Regions from separate parts of the Homo sapiens genome. Here region 1 is linked to region 2. The links are contacts of gene promoters, found by promoter capture Hi-C in blood cells and fetal thymus (Javierre and others, 2016). All regions are on one chromosome and are shown on one strand. Each heading gives the region's core, a stretch centred on a gene start or on the middle of the fragment in contact. The rest is flanking DNA. Distances are from core to core; before and after follow the strand shown. Region 1 overlaps RAB3C (RAB3C, member RAS oncogene family). Region 2 holds the start of GAPT (GRB2 binding adaptor protein, transmembrane).

Evidence for each region. Contacts are between HindIII fragments. The CHiCAGO score rates a contact against its expected background, and 5 or more counts as called.
Region 1: a contact is called between a fragment that was not itself captured here and the fragment with the promoter of GAPT in region 2, in 2 of 17 cell types (neutrophils and M1 macrophages). The highest score is 5.8, in neutrophils.

What each region holds. Positions count from the first base shown.
Region 1 is chr5:58,756,567-58,763,205 of GRCh38, forward strand. The region is part of intron 3 of RAB3C (RAB3C, member RAS oncogene family); the gene reads left to right. Among named protein-coding and RNA genes, the nearest start is that of RAB3C, 180 kb to the left of the region's middle. The HindIII fragment of the contact is 6,251 bases long and covers 1-4,980 here.
Region 2 is chr5:58,486,272-58,492,914 of GRCh38, forward strand. It overlaps GAPT (GRB2 binding adaptor protein, transmembrane), which reads left to right and starts at 5,164. Exons shown (of 3, transcript NM_001304431.2): 1 at 5,164-5,270. The HindIII fragment of the contact is 6,945 bases long and covers 2,900-6,643 here.

The sequences.
Region 1 (6,639 bases), core at 605-3,104, 270 kb after region 2:
CCTCCCTGTGTCCATGTGTTCTCATTGTTCAACTCCCACTTATGAGTGAGAACATCATATTTTGGGTACCATTATAAACTGTAAGTCACGCCTGATAATCTCATGTCTGAATACCCAAATATGTGATGTTTGGTTTTCTGTTCCTGTGTTAGCTTGCTGAGGATGATGGCTTCCAGCTTCTCCATGTTCCTGCAAAGGACATGATCTCATTCCTTTTTATGGCTGCACAGTATTCCATGGTGTATATTTGCAACATTTTCTTTATCCAGTTTATCATTGATGGGCATTTGGGTTGGCTCCATGTCTTTGCTATTGTAAATAGTCCTGCAATAAACATATGTGTGCATGTGTCTTTATAGTAGAGTGATTTGTAATCCTTTGGGTATATACCCAGTAATGGGATTGCTGGGTCAGATGGTATTTCTGATTCTAGATCCTTGAGGAATCACCACACTGTCTTCAGCAATGGTTGAACTAATTTACACTCCCACCAACAGTGTAAAAGTGTTCCTGTTTCTCCACCACCTCACCAGCATCTATTGTTTCTTGACTTTTTAATAATCGCCATTCTGACTGGCATGAAATGGTATCTCATTGTGGTTTTGATTTGCATTTCTCCAACTTCAATATATTTAACATTGATAGAATACTTTTTTCTTATCTACCTTTCATACATCAGTATTGTCATTTGATCCAGTAATGTTCTTTATAGCATTTTCCTCTGTGGTACAGGATCCAGTCTGTCATCAGGTATAGCATTTAAGTGCCATGTCTCTTTACCCACTTTCAATAGGGAATACTTCTACAACCTTTCTTTTTATTTTCTGACATTGACTTTTTTTTCTGACATTGACATTTTGGAAGAATGGATTACTGCCACACCCGCCCCCAACTTTTTTTTAATGAAACATTTCCCGTTTGGGGTTTTTTAGATAGCCTTTCGTGATCACTTTCAAGTTATGCATTCTTCTTTGGAATGTTGCATAGGAGATGTTGTGTCCTTCTCAGGCTATCACATCTGAAAGCACATCACGTCCATCTGTCCTTCATTGGTGATGTTAACTTTAATCAGCCATACAAGTGTTTTCTGATTTCCCTACTAGGTAATTATTGTATAATTTTTTTCCCCTGCAACTAATAAATAGTCTGAAAGAGACAGTTTAAAACATGCTAGTATCTAGTTTCTCATCAAGATTTCCCTCTAGATTTAGCATCCATTGATGAATCTTGCCTGATCTGATCTTTAATAAAACAGTTGCAATATTATGATGTTCCAGTGTCAGCACTCTCTTCACATCTGCCATCAGCTCTCAGAATTCTACTTCAAGCAAAAGCTCCCCTACTTATTTGTTTTTGTTGTTGTTGTTGTTTTGTTTTGTTTTGTTTTGTTTTTGAGACGGAGTCTCGCTCTGTCGCCCAGGCTGGAGTGCAGTGGTGCGATCTCAGCTCACTGCAAGCTCCACCTCCCGGGTTCACGCCATTCTCCTGCCTCAGCCTCCCAAGTAGCTGGGACTACAGGTGCCCACCACCACGCCCGGCTAATTTTTTGTATTTTTTTTAGTAGAGATGGGGTTTCACTGTGTTAGTCAGGATGGTCTTGATCTCCTGACCTTGTGATCCGCCTGCCTCAGCCTCCCGAAGTGCTGGGATTACAGACGTGAGCCACGGTGCCCGGCCTTTATTTGTTTATTATTGATATAGACCTATAAATTTTTTCCAATAGTTTATAATTGGAAATAAAATTTTAATTAAATGGTTTATTTACTCATTTATTTAGTGAATATTTATTGAATACTTACAATATGCCACATACTCTATTCTGGTGATACAACTGTGGGCAAAACAGATGTAACCTGTTTTTCCTCATATATATAGACATATTGTTTATGTGTTATGTACAGAGATTTGAGGACTAGAGTCTAAAAGAATATTTTTTAATACGCATGTTAAACCCTTAATTCATTTCTTCAATAGATCTGTCAAACACTGGTGTGTTGAGAACCGTTCTGGAAACTGAGAGCACAAACAGGGTCCCTATCCTTAGGGAATTTGCAATCAAATGGGGAAGATAATAAAGAAATAAATACACTATCAGAAGAATTGCAGGTTTTGAAAGGTGTTTTAAAAGGAAAAAAGTAAACATAAACACCAGAGCTAAGATAAAGGATGACGACCAAAGTAACATAGAGGCCAGTGATTACTAAAGTAAAATGAAATCTGGAAGGATCACTTCATCGTGATCTCTCATGAATGTTTGAGTGGTGCTTCACTGGGTAAATGTTCCTTGGACTTTTTTTTTTTTGGATACTTTTCCATGGTCCTTGACCAGTTGGTTTCCAGCAGCCTCATAACTAGGCACATGTCTGCTGTTGCCACCTGCATGGATCCAGCCTTTAGATTTGACATTTCCAAACCAGTGACCACCTATCAGTAACTTCTGCACCAGGATACAAATGATAACATAGCCAAATCAAACCGCTTTATACTAAATATTACCTCCCTCCAACATTCAACAAATATTTCATAAAAATGCACTGTGTCCCAGGACACTGGAATACCTGTCATTGGAATGTACATTTCAGTGAAGGATACAAACAAGTAATTAGGCAAGATACTGTAGTCAGTGTAATCACAGTGGTTAGTACAGGGTCCTGAGGGAGATTATAGAAGGAGTTTCTAACCCAGATGTGGTGGGGTTGGGGCAAGTGGACAGAAAGCCTTTCTGGAGTTGCAGCTGATACTTAAAGAGAAATGTAAGTTAGCCAGAGACCCCAAGCTGTTCCCTGCATCCAGGTGCATGCAATAGGTGCAACGTCACAAGGAAGTTAGGCACATATACCTGGATCCCCTAGTTCACCACTGTCTGCCTCCCCAGTGTCTGGCACATAATTTACACTCAGTGAATATTTTGGAACAAGTGAGTAGGTACATGCCAAAGAGACATTTTGTCCTCGGAAGAGAAGATAACCATGATAAAATTTAATATCAAATTCTTTATAACATGTAATGTATGAGATTATTTCTGTCCTATCAAGTTTGCATTCATACTGTAGCTTTAATTACATATTAGAAAGGAGGATGGAGTGGTTTTCGAATCTGCTAGTATTAAAACATTTTTGCTGATGCCTTTAACTAGATGAGTTGTAAAGCACATTATTTATACCTGGAAGAACTGGCTTCTCTTACCCATTTAATTTTTCCAATTAACTGAAAGCCAGGTTGACTTGGCTTTGGTTCACTCTGTGGTCAAAATTTAGCATCATGGGTATTGATTAATTAGTGATGAGTCATTTGGCCTATAAGAGCATAAACTACCTGATGGCAAATTTACAGGACGAAAATTAGGCCACAGAGTAAGTGTTGTTCTTCGTTACTAAAAATGAAACTAAAAATGTCACTGCCGAAGTGGAACTAACAGGAGCAACAGAGAGAATCAAGCCAAGTGTTCTTTCCTTCCTCTCCTGTCTCCCTGACCTAGATAAGAAACCTTACCCAATCCTAACTCCTAGTTCCGTCCACCCTTATTTGAGACCCTCCCACTAAGGGACCATTGCCATTCACTAGATCATGATGGGTATGACCCAGTGAATGGCAACATAATGCATAGGATAAATGTGCAATGGATTTTTTTTTTGTCCATCAGATTTGGGTGTTTGTTTGTATGAAAAATTTAGCCTCTTACTTGTTGTCTACCATGACCATATAGAAAAGTCATGAAAGTTTTGGAATATGAGCTCCCGGATGGAATGTGAGAATATGAGTTCTGAAGTTAGATGCCTGCATTCATTTCCCAACACCACTACTTAATGATTTGGATGCATCAGATTCTTCACTGTAAAATGGGAAGTTTAAAAGTGCCTACACCATAGGATTGTTGTGAGAATTAAGCAAGCCCATCTATGTAAAGGACTTAGCATGGCGGCTCACTGTAAGCCTCATTTAGGCATCATGATGCTCAAAAAAGGGATCACCAAAACACTTAACTGAATATCACCCCAAAATCAAGTGCCAATTCATGTAAGCAGTTGGTATTAAACAACTAGTCTGTTCTTTCTTCTTGTCTGATGTTTAGGACCTAGAATATCTTATATGATCAGCTAATGTACTCTGATAAAAATGAAAAATACTGATTATTGAGAAAGTGTTTTTGAGAGCCCATGATGGTCAGATCTCTGTGCTAAATGCTATGGTGCACTTGAAAACAACTTCATTTCTGCCTCCAAGGAACTTACAGTCTAGTTAATGGAGACATGTCAGGAACACGTGTGTCTAAAAACATCAGTCATCAGTACAGGAGGTCAAATGATTAGCACTGTAGGCAGTGGAGTCTATTTGCTGATGGCAAGACTTCCAGTTAAATAGATAACGAGCATCACTTAAACATTTTAATTTCCCAAAGGAAGACAATATTTGTGCATTTTAAATGCAGTTTATAGAACATGAGTTATATATGATCACATTCCTTCTCTCTCTCTCTCTCTCCCTCTCTCTCTCTCTCACACACACACACACACACACACACAGCACAAACCATTTAGAAGACCATATACCACATTGTTTACTGTGGATATCTCTGACAAAAGCATTGGAACTGCAAATGGAAGGCTACTTTTCACATTTTATTCTTCAGTCTTTTGTATTGATTGAATTTTTTTACAATTAAATCAGAAAAAACAATGGAATTATTTATTTTAGTAAAATATATTGAAGATAATTCCCTGAGAAAGCTAAATTCATCTTCTATTAATGACTTTTTACCTGATAGTTATATAATGTGTTCTTTCTTTACAAATAAAAATTATACAATTAATAAAAGTAAGCATTTGCTATCCCACAAATATTTTTTAAATTTAATTTGGGGGTAACAAACATTTTAAATACATTATGTTACTGGTTCTGAAAAATCTAGGTCAACTTCTAGGATCTTGTTTGATGTAAGAATTTGAACTGTTTCCAAGGTAACCAATCATATCTCTAGAAAGCTTAGCTAAGCTTGTATCTCTTCATTTTGAATGCTCAGCTCTTTTTATGTCCTCCTGGAAACCCTGAACTTTGACATACACACACATACCCACACACATGTACACACTCACTCCAGACTTTGCTTGCCTTCCATCAGGGACACAAGGTACAACAAAACCAAATAAATGCTCATTGATTTTTAAGTTGTTTAATGCAGCTGTTTCATTATCTTTTCTGTCTTTATATACTGTAAGTGATGACAGTCAAATGTTGTGTGACTATTCATAAAAGAAAGCATATTAATTTTGTATGAATTCCCAGGTACCTGCTCTTCAATTTATGATCATTCTTTTCTCTTTATTTTATTTTTCTCTAGCATAGATATGAAGCCCAAGAATATGTCAATAATGTTTAGTAAAATAATATTAAATTTTTTCACTTAATTTGCTAGTATGGCATTGACTAATAGAAACATCATCTGAGCCACATATGTTATTTTTGGTTCCCTAGCAGCCACTTTTAGAAGCAAAAAAAAAAAAAATAGGTAAAATTAAATGTATTTTATTTAACTCAGTTTATCTAAAAAGCTATCATTTCAACATATAATCAATATAAAAATTAATGAGCTACTTTTTTGTACTAAGTCTTCAATATCTGGTGTGTACTTTATATGTGCAGCACATTGCAATTTGGACAAATCATGGTGCAAACCCTTAGGAGCCATGAGTGGCTGAAGGTGACCATATTGGACAGTGAAGATCTAGACAATGGTTGTTACTTCCTGTTAGTATCATCTCGTCAGTGGGATATTTAAAGACGTAGTGTATTATTTTGCAGGATTTTCTTTTCTTCCTGAAATTTAATTAATAACATATTAAATTGGGCCTGGTGCTGTGGCTCACACCTGTAATCCCAGCATTCTGGGAGGCCGAGGCAAGTGGATCACCTGAGGTCAGGAGTTCAAAACTAGCCTGGCCAACATGGAGAAACCCCATCTCTACTAAAAATACAAAAATTAGCTGGGCGTCGTGGCTGGTGCCTGTAATCCCAGCTACTTGGGAAGCTGAGGCAGAAGAATCCTTTGAACCTGGGAGGCAGAGGTTACAGTGAGCTGACAGCGCCATTGCCCTCCAGCCTGGGCGACAAGAGTGAAACTCCGTCTCAAAAATATAAATAAATAACTTATTAAATTGACTTGCTTAATTGAAAATATTTTATTTTCACTTTTCATAGGTGTCCATTTATCCTTTTTACAGAGTTTTCCTACTAATAACTAGCCATCTGAGGAAACTACAATATGTTTTTTACTCAATATTTCCTAAAAGATAATTTTCGGAAAAAGGTAAAATCATGACTCTCATACAAATATAAAATGAATATATGTTACAGAATTTTCTTTACTCGTGATATGAGAGAACTAGGTAGCTGTTATAACCGGTTCAAAAGAAAAGTCAAAACAGTATAAATTTACATGGAGTAGAGCAATGTTGAGATGAATTCCAAATGGGAACAAAACTTTTTTCTACAAGAGGGAAAAAGTAAATTAAATTACAACCAGGTAAGGCAGAACTTACAGAGCTACCAGTTACCTACAACTTACAATGAATTACAAAATAGCTCAAAAACAGTGAGTAGAGCTAGAATCCTATAATCCAAAAGGGTATACTATATATGATG
Region 2 (6,643 bases), core at 3,914-6,413:
TTATTCATGAAGAAGTAAAATGTTTCAAAAATTGTTTCATATTAAATGGTTATTCAATTTCTTCAATGTGCATTTAGTTTTATCTGAAGGAATAAAAGGGGAAATACTGAAGGAAGAAGAGACAGTGTTGTTCAACTAAAGTTAAAGCAAGCCTCACTCCATGTTATCTGATTTGCATACCAATTAGGAAAGACTTATGACCAAAAAAAAAAGGGAATTGGACTAAAGGGAAGTACATACTAAACACGAAAACCAATTTCAAACATTCTGTTCTGATTGTGTTGATGACCAATTTCTGTTATGTACTTAGTAGATTTGAAGGAAGCTCAGGGATACCCCATCCATTGCTATCTCATGGACAAAGAAAGCAAGATTCACAGTTGTGTTACTTAATCAAGATGAAAAAGAAATAGGTATAAATCGTTTTATACCTATATGTTTTTGGGTTGTATGTGATCTTGGGGAACATATCCCTTGAGTAAGTCAAAGTATTTATGATCATATTTTTGATCTCAGAAAATAGGACCCCTTGCTTTGACTGGGTTGAAGCTCAATATTCATTAGTAACTCATTAGTAATTCATCTTCATACCAGCCTCACCAAGGCCGAGGCTCAGGAAGTTCCAAATAAAGTTAGAATTCAAATAGCTTAAAGTCTACCTCAAATTCAGCACAGAATTCCTTCGCTCAAACTAGTAGACCAGCTTGCCAAAGAAGATGGTAATCTGGATGAATAAAAATATATATCTAATTATCTCCATTTTTATAACATATAAGAATTCTCTTATTCATTCCCAATTTCTTTTTGGATTAAAATACAACTTACATACAGTTCACAAATTTTAAATATACAGCTTAATGAATGGTTACATAAAATACATCTCATAACTGCTACAAAGATCAAGATACAGAACTTTCCCAGCATCCAAGAAGGCTCTCTGATGCATCACTAGATCTATAGTAACCACAGCTCTTCTGACCTCTATCATATATCCATAGATAAGTTTTATGTAATTTTGATCTCATATAAATGGAATCATACAGTGTATAGTGTTGTGTATGTGGCTTCTTTAATTCTGCATTGTTTGTGAGCTTCATCCTGATGTTGTGTATATTAGTATTATAGTTTGTTCTTTTTCATTTCTGTGTAGTATTCCATCACATGAATTTACTATGCTTTACTCACTCATTTTACTATTGATGGACCTTTGGGTTATTTCTAGAGCCTTGAGTTATTATGCCTAAAGCTGTTATAAAAAGAAGTGATACTTATTTCTATTGGGTGTGTACACTCAATGAATGAAATTCCTGGGTCTTTTTACTTTTTCTTTCGGCATCTTCTCTTTTAGTCCCAGACCATAATTTAACCTTTCTAAGTTGTCATATGAACCATAATAATGTTTATCATTTTAGGCCAGAGAAGTGTTCCAGGTGGCAAATTTCATGTCTTAAAAGGGTCCGCCAGTAGGGTTATGCTTTTCGTAGCTCATTCCTATGGGAACCCTGATGGATTTTGCTCTCCTTTTTCCTTCTCCCCAACTTCTTGTTATTTGTGTATGTATATCTCCCCAACTCCTCATGATATAAGAAGAAGAAGAAGAAAAAAAAAGATAGACTATTGAAGGGGACATCTAAGAATGTTTTTCTCATCTATTCCGCATTGAGATAGTGTTGTAGTACAACAGAGAAGTGCTGGGTCAGAATGAAGGGACTGGATTTTTATATCCAGACCAGGCTTCTGCTTTCTAGGCTGGAGGCTATGGATTAAATCACATCAGTTATCTGCACTTCAGCCAGGGGGTTAATTTGCATCAGTGGTTTCCAAACATGGCTGCAAATCAGAATCACTTGGGGAGGCTTTAAAGTTTGTTTTGTTACAAAAGTGGCATATGTTAGTGGAAAATATCAAATAACACAAAAGACTGTAAAATAAAATGTAAACATCTTTCCCCTCACAGTCTGCATAATATCTCATTTTCCTACCCATAAATTCCTAAATGTTGTTCTAAGGTTTTAAAATAAAGATCTCTGGGCCCCACTCCAGAAGTAATGAAGGAGAATCTTCAAGGTCCTAGAAATTTACGTATTTGTTTAAAACTTCATAAATGATTTTGATAAACATTCAAGTTTGGGAATGAATCTCTTGATGAACATCTGAGACCCATTTCAGTAAAATCCATCCCCTACACTCTACAAATTATGTGATTTAAGTTTGCCAACTGCTACCAGGATTGGCCCTAAGCATAACTAAAGCAACAATGGTTTTATTTTTACCTGTTCCTATTCATGTTTTCTCTCTTCATCTTTAGCTGCTCAGTTTTTTTGCTTTAAAAAAAAATTTTCTTTTTTTGAAACGGAGCTTTGCTCTTGTTGCCCAGGCTGGAGTGCAATGGCGCTATCTCAGCTCACCGAAACCTCTGCCTCCCAGGTTCCAGTGATTCTCCTGCCTCAGCCTCCTGAGTAGCCAGGATTACAGGCATGCTGCATCATTCCTGGCTAATTTTGTATTTTTAGTAGCGATAAGTTTCTGCATGTTGGTCAGGCTGGTCTCAAACTCCTGACCTCAGATGATCTGCCCGCCTCAGCCTCCCAAAGTGCTGGGATTACAGGCGTGAGCCACTGCACCCAGCCGCTTTAAAATTTTTATAACTCTTTGGGCCACAGAGTGAAAAACTTTTAGTTGGAAGGTAGTGACACATTCTATTAAAACTCTAGTTACTTTTTGGTTAATCCCATAAACCGATTAGTGTTAATAAATTTGTTAGCTACTAAATGCATTACCTTTCCGAGGTAACATAATGCTTTATGCTAAAATGTAAATTCCCATGATACCCTTAACAAGTAGCATGGGGTTTGGCGGCTCCTTCCAAAATAGCCAGAAAGATGCTTTTAGTCTGGCAAGCTTTCAAATAAAATTCACATACACAAACATTTGTTCATTTTTACCGTCACTAATGTTACTCAGTTCAAGTATCTGAAAAAGGGCATGGGTTAAAAGAAATGGATACTAACTGACACACAAGAAATTGCTGGGAACTTAAATCACAATTAAGTAAAGTGGTTGCTATCACCAATTAATAGGAGAGGAAGATTTACTTAGATGAAAGATCCAGTCCATATTACACTACAGAACAATAAACTACTTCCTAAGCCCTTTACTACCCAAACCGTATAACTGTAGAAGAAAAAGCAGGAAAAGAAAACCTAGACATAATTGCTGTGATTAAAAAGGAACTGAAAGGAGACAATAAATATGTATTTTGCGAGGCCAAAGATTGGGAAGTAGGAAAATATAGAATTCAAGACATAAAACATAATCCCTACAAATGACAATGATCCAATAATTCTATTTTGAATATATACAGCATTTCTTTTATAAACTTGAAGAATAATTATATCCATTACATCAAAAAAATTCTATTTGAGGAAAGTGCCAGTCATTTTCCCTCCATTTTATTTTCCGTTAGAAAAACTAAAGTAATAAGGGGTTAAGCAACTTTTTTAACTTCAAAGGGCAAAAGCTGAATGAGCACCAGTTGTCCTGCCTTCTAGAGAAAATCATAATTTTATACAAACATTGTATAAATTGCCTTTCTTACAGATGTATGCCTAGGCAGGTGAGTGTGTATATTATTTGGAGGGGTGGCTAATACTGAAGTTAAATATAGTGGTGAGAATGTGGAGCACATCAAGTTCATAGCTTCACAACTTCATAACCTCCTTCACTGTAAGATTTTTGTCCAGGACACCCCTATTCTGCCTTAACACCTTATTCTATGAGGCTTAGCTCAGGTCTTGCCTTCCCTGACCACCCTCTGAGCTGGATGCCTCTTTCCTTTACCTCCACTGTCCCTGTCCATAATCCTGTCTTTCTTAGGCATTATCACTTTGATCTGAAATGTTCTGTGGGCGCAGCAGCCTCTCTACTTGGCTTTAAGTGCTGCAGGGAGCTTATTCACTCTTGCATCCTCATCTCTTAGCACAATGCCTGGCATAATGTCAGTGCTCAGCAAGTGTTAATAATACGTCCTGTCCTTCCAATGTCCAGTAGTTATTTCAGTAACTAAATCCTCTTTTTTAAAACCACCTTATGCAAAGTTAATCCTCTGTGGTTCAAAAAGTTCCAAGACAACTTAAAAGACAAATTTTCCATTACTTTGTCATCTCATCTGTCGAATTCATCTGTAATTTGTCTAATTCAGCATCTCCCACTGTGTGTGTTCCCATGAGTTGGACTCCAAGAGATGCTCTTGGTAAGCGTATCTATGTGGGAAACATGTTACTCAATCTAGCAAGGCAGCCAGTGCAGTGGTTTAGCACACAGGTGCTGGGGGCAAACTGCAGGCTCTGTCGGGCAAGTGATCATTCTGTGTGCTTCTGTTTCCTCTTCTGTAAAATAGGACTAATAACAGTTTTTCTCCCTCACAGGGTTGTTGCCAAGATTTGCTGAGTATTACACAAAAGGTTTGGAGTACTTAGTGCTAGGAACATACTGACTACTATTATTAAGCAAAGTTAAACAATTTCTTTTTCTTATTTGGTTTTATTTTGTTTGCTGGCTGTAAGACTGCTGAGAGCCTTTAGCATGCTGATGTACCCATGAATCTCCAGGGAAGCAGTATTCCCCACATTTACTTGATGGAAGAGCTGCTAGCATATCTCAGGGGTAATGGGCCTCAAAACATACCTTAGGAAATTCCTATTTATAAATTTAAAAGAACGTTAACATTTTCCAAACCCAAATTGGGACACTGATTTGACCTGTATGGCTATAACTTGGGAGCATTGGTACATAATATTAATATTTGAAGAGAGGACTGGTCTAGCAACACAAGTAAATAATAATAATAATAATAAAAGCCCAAGACCTATGTGTTACTACAATTAAAATATTTCTTTTTTTAAAAAATCAAAGTACAAGTGAAGTGACTTTTATTGATATTAAAGTGGGAACTGCAAATATGGCCCAAATAAAAAACCATGTAGGCTTTACGTATTATTTTCTGACACAGTTAAAAAACTATTACTTGACAAAGATGAAGGGCCAGACTTCCTTATTCAAAACCTCACGCCATTTATCTTAATTCTGCTGCATCTGATACTGACTTCCTCTAGAGCCAGGAAACTTTGCAAGTATTAAATAGCGTGAACGAAGGAGGGAAAGAAGGAAGTAACCCACCAAAGTGAAAAAGAGGAACAAGTTCTAACCCAATGCAGGTTTAAAACATAACCAAAAGAACAAAAGAGAGAGCTTGACACACCAATCTTGAGGTAAGTAAGAACCTGATTTAAGGTATTTGGATGATTAAACACTATAAGAAACAAGTTTGTCTTTAATTAATCAATGATTTTTATCTTACTACAGTTTTTAGAAAAAAATGCCTTACGTAGCTGTAAGGGGGAAACCCAATTTACAAACTGAGAGTGATGTTAATGTTTCTTTACAATATGATTATGCTTTGCTGTTACCTTGTTTCCAAACAGCAGGGCATTCTCTTACTTGAAAATTCCTGAAGTTTCTCAACAATTTGCGATTTTAAGAAAAATGTCAAATTGTTAGGTAACCTGTTGGAACTGCTTTCCAAAATGAAAACAGAGTCTTCTTTCAAACTGGTCAAAGTGAACATTATTTAAGTGTTAAACTATATTTGAATGGTTATTGTTTAAAATATGTTTTTCATTATAGTAGGTCTTTGTTCATGTCTCACAGGTTTTTTCCTCTAATGTTATTTCGAAGAAAATGATGCATTTCTTTTTCTGTAAAAAGTCTTCTTGTCTTTATCTTGGTAAATATCTCTTAGACAAACAATTTTAATATTTTGGATGTACCAGAATTTCTACTCTACATAGAATAACATAGATGGTAAAAATGCCTTTTCTTCTTAAAAATTAAGAGAGTAATTTATTGCCTTATCCTCAGCTACAGAAGTGACAATAGTTAGCCTTCCTCAACCCTCACCGTGACTTCTGTTGCAGGCCTAGTATCTTTCAAAAAGTTGATTAATTTCAATCAATACTTAAAGTGTATTTTGTAAATTTATTTCAAATATTCTGGCAAATAACTTCTTAAATCATTAACCATGTATACCATAAAATATCTTGCAGATAATTGGTGCTCATCTGTTTCAGACAGGAAATGAGGTCCTAATGATTAAAGTCATTTGGCTAAACTTTTGTCCTTGAACACAAGCACGGCTGGCCTTATAAAGGAGGGACCCTGCAGATTGTAAATCTTATGTGGCGGACCATACAGTTCTCAACCTCAATATTACTCCCAAAAATTCCAAGGAGATTAAAATGTTTCTGCATCTGGGGTGCTTGTCCCTGTATTTTTATCAAAAAATTGTATAAATTAGCTGCACATCTTATTTAATTTTCTTTTATGAAATGTCAAATTAAATATTTGCATATTAATATATTCTAACCTTGGACAAATTTATGAACGTTCATTACCATTAAACTTTTCATGAAAACTCACTGAAAGCAGAGCACCACTTTGTGAATTTCTATTTTTCTTCTCATTGTTACTATTATTATCCCATAAGGAGATTACTTCATTCATTAACAAATGTCTAATAGATTAGTCATTCTGTGTCTAATGCTGGTGTTGGTAATACAAAGGTAAATAATATATGATTTCCAAC